Linked DNA regions of Homo sapiens: region 2 is linked to region 1. Evidence: promoter capture Hi-C in human tissues and cell types (Jung and others, 2019). All regions are on one chromosome and are shown on one strand. The core of a region is centred on a gene start or on the middle of the fragment in contact, and the rest is flanking DNA. Distances in the headings are between cores, read along the strand shown.

Evidence for each region. Contacts are between HindIII fragments. The study calls those that stand out against the background at their distance.
Region 2: a fragment that was not itself captured here is called in contact with the fragment with the promoter of SLC8A3 in region 1 in 1 of the 25 tissues and cell types used here (ovary).

The regions. Positions count from the first base shown.
Region 1 is chr14:70,187,618-70,190,686 of GRCh38, reverse strand. It overlaps SLC8A3 (solute carrier family 8 member A3), which reads left to right and starts at 1,736. Exons shown (of 7, transcript NM_182932.3): 1 at 1,736-2,308. It also overlaps the pseudogene LOC646548. RefSeq lists silencers at 1,762-2,091, 2,162-2,301. The HindIII fragment of the contact is 13,926 bases long and covers 1-3,069 here.
Region 2 is chr14:70,149,826-70,152,894 of GRCh38, reverse strand. All of the region lies in intron 2 of SLC8A3 (solute carrier family 8 member A3), which reads left to right. Among named protein-coding and RNA genes, the nearest start is that of SLC8A3, 38 kb to the left of the region's middle. The HindIII fragment of the contact is 4,599 bases long and covers 1-3,069 here.

The sequences.
Region 1 (3,069 bases), core at 487-2,986:
TAGACTCAGCATTGTGACTCTCCACGGGAGCAGACACAAGGTAAGTCCCAGTAACTGACATATCCTGAGATCCCACAACTTTAGAAGCTATTGAAACCTTTCAAAGTCAGTCCCAGCCCTAACTTTAAATGAAATTCAAGACCCATAAAGGTTCAGGGGTCTGAAAGCACTCCTACTGCTCCTACTGAGCACATCCAGGATTCTGACTCCGGACTCAGGCCAGAAACCACCACACAGCTTGCTAACGGAACACTGAGTCAAAGGACCAGCAAAGACCTCCTGCCATCTCAGGCTTAGAGATTCCCTAGTCTCTACACCCCCTTAATCTGTTTGAACCAAGCCTTGCTCCAGAGCAGCCGGGCAAAGGAGCCAGGGATCTCAGGAGTCACACACACTGTTGACGTCTCAGCACAACTCCGGTTGGTTGCATTTTATTTCAATCCTTGGCTCTGCTGCACGTGGCCTTGGGATGGTTATTTAACCTAAGGCTCAATTTCCTCAACAAAAAAATGGAGTTGGTAATTGTACCTAGCTCACAGAGTTTTAGTAGGATGGCATGAGGTAATACAATCAAATTCACTAGCACCACTCCTGGCCCTTAAAAGGTGCTGCTATTTGGTAAGTATTATTATCATTTGTTGGCCCCTCACACTTAGCCTCAGGCAGCAGAGAGGCCTGAAAGAGAACAACTTCCTGCCCTTACATTCTGACTTTTCTGCACTGGTGTCGCTACAGAAGGCCAGCCACCAGGCTCATTTTAGATCTGCCTAATGCCACCGATAAGCTGAGGGCTTGAAACCCCATTCTTAGGAGTGGCTTGCCCACCCCGCATGCCTCTAGGACCAAGCCTGACAAATATAGCAGAAATTACAGGCATCTGATTTAAGGCTACGTGTGTACACTTCGCCTGAGCCAAGCCCCAAGCCCTAGTCCCGCTGCTGCATCAAAGGACCAGCTCTCTTCCAGCCTCCAGGCCCAGAGTAAGCAGCAATTTGGGAGGCAGCCCCCTCTTATTTTTAGCTTTAGAAACCCGAAAAGCCAACATACCAGAGCTCACCCAAGCGTCTCTCACAAACTGTTGTTTGACTTGGGTTGAGAAAATGACAGGCTGGGTTCTGCACCAAGAAGAGAAGAAAAAAAGAGGGGGAAAAAAGGAGTTTTCTTTTCCCTCCGCTGCCAATCTCCATCCCCCTCAACTCCTCCCCTAGGCCTGGGTGGACCCTGCCTGGGTAATAGTTCCCTGCTATATTTAAAAACCACAGATGTGTTTGGTGGAGACTTAATTTCGGAATTGCAGGCAGCGTCTCCTGAGGACAAGGGGAAAGCCGGTGCCGCGCGCCCGCCTGCTGCCTGGAGCTCCCAACTCGGCGGAATCCAGGTCAGGACGCGCCGCCGTTTTGACGTGCTGCCGGCCGGGAGGCGCGGGCGCCAGGCTCCAACGACTAGGGTGGGTGGCCGCGGGGCAGGGGTTGGATCTGAATTCGTCCCTCGGGGGCTCTGGATGCGGGATGCGGGATGCGGGATGCGGGCTCGACTTCCTCGCTGCTGGTCGAGGAGCGTTCTGAGAGTCTCCCCTCCGCGCGCGAGGATAAATATGCGCGGCTTGTCAGTCAGTGCGGCGCTGTCTCCCAGCTGATAGGGTGACGTTCCGTTTGGAGGCTTGGAGATTGGCTTTTTGATTTGGCTTCTTCCGGCAGCTTAATGGGCAAAGCTCTCCGCTCGCCCAGAAACCAGCCTCTCCGCGCGTCCCCTCTGCGCGCGGCGAGGCCGAGACGTCTCCCGCGGTGACAGCGTGCAAGGCGGAGACCCGGCGCGCTCCCAGCCCAGGGAAAGCCCAGGCGACGCGACCGCAAGCCCGAGCCCAGGTCCCTCGGAGCCGCCAGGGCGCGCCGGGCTGCTTGCCTTCCTGCCCCTTCCTGCAGGAATCCCCCGCCGCCCGCGGCCGGGACTCCGGGCCTCTCCCGGGCGTAGATTCCAGTCACCGCTCTGGGTCGGGGTTTCCCTCTTTCTGAAATCCGTGCGGAAGGACCCCTCCCGGGGCCCCTCGCCCTGGCCCCAGACACCCTCCCTCCCAGACCCCGCGCTCCAGATGCGCTGCCCCGCAGCTCCCTGACAGCTGCGAGCCCACGAACCCCGGCGGGAGGGCGGCGGCGGCGGACTGACATGCCCCGGACGCGGCTGCGGCCGGCGGGCAGCCCGCGGGGGCGATGAGCCGCTGCGACCGGTGAGGCGCCGGGCGGCGGGGGCATCGCGTACCTTCCTCACCCCCCTCCCTTGCCCACTCCGCTCGGGAGGCCGAGAGGAAACGGTGAGTAATGGGGTGAGCCTCCTGCCCTTCCCCCTTAGCGGGCAGCCGAGACATGGGAGGTAGAGGTTGGGGGGCTTGGGATGCCCCTAAGAGGATCCCTGATTGTGAGTAACGGGGTTAAGTTATTTCTCAAGATCATTCATATGAACCGCCTTCCTGTGGATTTAGTGCCAGGAGAAGTGGGGTGAGGGTGCCCCGGAAAGTGTACATTGTGTATGCAGTGTTGGGGGGGCAGATCTGGCAGAGTGGGTGTCTACAGGAGGGTGCCGCCGGGTGGGGAGGGGCAGAGAGAGATGCCTGGGCAGGTGGGTACAGTTGGATCGTGAGCATGCTGGGTTGGTAGCGGGTGCTGTTTGGGGAGACTGACTGCTGTGTTGTGTGTGCTGGATGCATGTCGGCATATGTGTGCCACCTGGGCCAGGGCGTGTTGTGCTTCTGGTGCTGTGAGTGTCCGCCGGGTTTGGGGGCTAGCAGGGAAGCGCGTTATCCACTCGGCGCGCGCCCGCGTGCACATACGCACGCACGCGCTCACCCCAATCTCGGGACTCCACCGCCGCGGGTCGGGAGCTGCAGCCCCAGAGCACCCACCGCTGGGGCCAAGGGGGCGAGGGAGAAGGAGGGTTTCTCCAGTGCTGCACTCTCCAGCCCCTGGTGGTCTGCGTGATCCGGGACTCGGTGGAGAGAATCGAAATATATAACTAACCCTCCCCCGATCCCCCAACACACACGCGCGCGCGGACACACACACACACACACACACA
Region 2 (3,069 bases), core at 208-2,707, 38 kb after region 1:
ATGTAATTATGTCCTATCTGGGCCTTGTAATGACAGCCCCCTGCCACTCTACAGGGAGTTGCCCTGCTCAGCTGCCCAGAACCTTTCCCTGGGAGGAAACTAATCTGCTTAGCCCAGATTGGACGCAGTTCTGCACAGCACTTTTCCGAATGCCTCTGAAATGAGTCCTCACTGACAGAACGGGCCCACTCTGGGGGAACTGAGGGCTCTCTTGGTCCTGCACTGCTCTTTGCCATACAGATCTGTCTGCCCAGGATTTTTCTTGGGTGTGTAGGAGGCTGAGAGAGCTCCCCTTTCTTCTCATGGCTAAATCCCTTGGTCTTTCCAGCCCTCCTGGGGGTTAGAAGGGAGAGGGAAAAAAAAAAAGACTGAACTTGTTGTTGTTGTTTTGTTGTTGTTGTTGTTTGCCTGTTTTCTATGTTGTCTTGTGGGGAGAGGGTATAAGATTGATTGACAGAGTGGCACACTTCCCCTGCAAATTCATCATTTGAATTTCTCAGGTAAGATGTTCACATTTCTCTGTTAAGATGCTCCAATTTCTCTGGTTAAGATTTCTCTGGTAAGATGCTCATGAATTGGTGGAGGTGTTGGCGGGATGTGGGAAGTGTGCCTGCTCTTTCTGAGTTTTGGGGGAAGTTGCCTTAATTCTCTGCATGACTTTCTTTGCTCCTTTGGGCTTCATTTCTGTGCAATGTAGTCTGACATGAATACTGCTCAGGGAGGTGTTGCTTCCCACTGCCCACGCCACTGGAAACCAGTAGCCCAGGTTTACTCGAGTCCTCCTTTTGAGGAACCCAAATTCTTTCATTTCTTTTATGTGAGATCTGCCCAAAATGCCATTGGCAAGCTGTACTGGGTTGAATAGTGTCCTTCCTCCTCCCAAATGTATGTCTACTCCAAACCACAGGATACTACCTTATTTGGGAATAGGGCTTTTGCAGGTGTAACCATTAATAGTTATGATGAGGTTATACTAGATTAGAATGGGCCCTAGATCCTATGACTGGTATCCTTACAAGAAGGCCATGTGATGACAAAGACAAAGAATGGAGTGAGGCACCCAAGGAACTCCAAGGATTGCTAGGAAACACCAGAAGCTTGGAGGAAGGCATGGAACAGATTCTCCTCTCGGACCTCTAGAAGGAATCAGTCCTGCTGATACCTTGATTTTGGACTTCTAGCCTCCAGACCTGTTGGGGAGAATACATTTCTACTGTTTTAAGCTACCACGTTTGTGGCGATTTGTCACAGCAGCCATAGGAAACTAATACATACAACCTGCACAATGCCTACTCCAGCATTCCATAGCAAGTCAAGGGCCTCACAATTATGTCCAAAGGACTGATAGAAGAGCGACCTCTGTGCTACTTGCCCTCAGGACGCTGACCCACAGCTCTCAAGGCAGGAGTAGGCCAGAGCTCATTCAACAACTTTGTTATATAGGGGTTCCAATTGTAAACCTTTTGAATTCCTGTTTGCAAGTAGATGAGGGTTGAAAAATAAATGGCCACTTTCTCTAAGCCACATACCCCAATCTGTTTTGTTACTTCATTACAGCTGTTATAATGGCCTCCTCTTCTATCTTCCAATCTCCATAGCCCTGGTTCCTTGATAGTTCTTTTTTTTTTTTTTTCTTTTTTTGAGGCGGAGTCTCGCACTGTCGCCTGGGCTGGAGTGCAGTGGCACGATCTCGGCTCACTGCCACCTCTGCCTCCCAGGTTCAAGCAAGTCTCCTGCCTCAGCCACCTGAGTAGCTGGGATTACAGGCACCTGCCACCATGCCTGGCCAATTTTTTGTACTTTTAGCAGAGGTGGGGTTTCACCATGTTGGCCAGGCTGGTCTTGAACTCCTGACCTCGTGATCCACCCACCTCAGCCTCTCAAAGTGCGGGGATTACAGGCATGAGCTACCGCGCCTGGCCAGATAGTTCTTAAACAACTGCCCAGAAGTTCCAGCCTAGGCAGGGGCAGCCATGAACTGCATTGCTCATTTCTGCTTTTTGACCTTTTCGATGGCTGAACTCTAGGCCATGGAAAACAAGGACCCACTGTATAGTTAAGAGTCATTTTGTGACTAGGGAGACAAAAAAGGGCCTATTCTCCAAATCCCCTTTCCCTCTGGAGTTCCTCGGTGCCTTAAAGCTTGTCCTGAGCTACAGGTGTGTTACCTGCTTATCCCAAAATGCAGGCATGTTACCTGCTTTCCTCTGCAAAGAGAGGCAGGCCTGGCTGGGGCACAGCTGAAGATGTCAAGGCCAACCTAAGGGCAGCCAAGCTATGGCTGTCTGTGACAAGAGGAGAGCAGCGGTGATGGGAGGGTAGGAGGCATTGAGTTCATGTCCGGGTTTGCCTCCTACCCTCCTATCACTGCTTGATGATCCTATCACTGTCTTGATGAGTTCAAGACAGAAGTTTGCCTCATCATTGCCACAATAAAATCACCAATAACAGAAGTGTGAAAGCAGCGATGTGAGTGGAAGCCCATATATACACAGGGGGTAATAGAGCAGCATGATTAAATATGTGGCCTTGTTATCAGACAGGCTGATTTGGAGTCCCAGCTACTTGTTGGTGACCTGAACTAGAGGAAGTTATCTAACCTTTCATTTTACTCATTTACATAACATGGCTAATAATAGCACCTACCTTATAGGGTTATTGTGAGGATTGAATACAATTATGCAATATAAAACGTTTAGCATAGTGCCTAGTCTAAATTCCTCACCAGGGGTATGATGTACTAGTTTTTAGTTAAGTAATTAGTATCCTGGACATGTCACAGCCATTTGACCTATCTGGGCCAGCGTTTTGCTCAGGTTCCCCCAGCAGTAATTGTATTCCCTCCCCAATCCCGGGATTAGCTTTTAGGAAGAAACAGTTGATCTAAAGATAGAAAGTCAGAGTACTGTCTGGAGGAAGGTAGAGGGAAATGTCATTATCTGGGTTTTCTTTGATGATGTCAGGGAACATGACAGGCTGCTCCCAAAGACAGAGCAGCCCCAGGACAGGGAAGAAGGTGACCTTGAGGTTGACTCCTCTGCATCCCGATGTGGACGTTATGGACTTGTT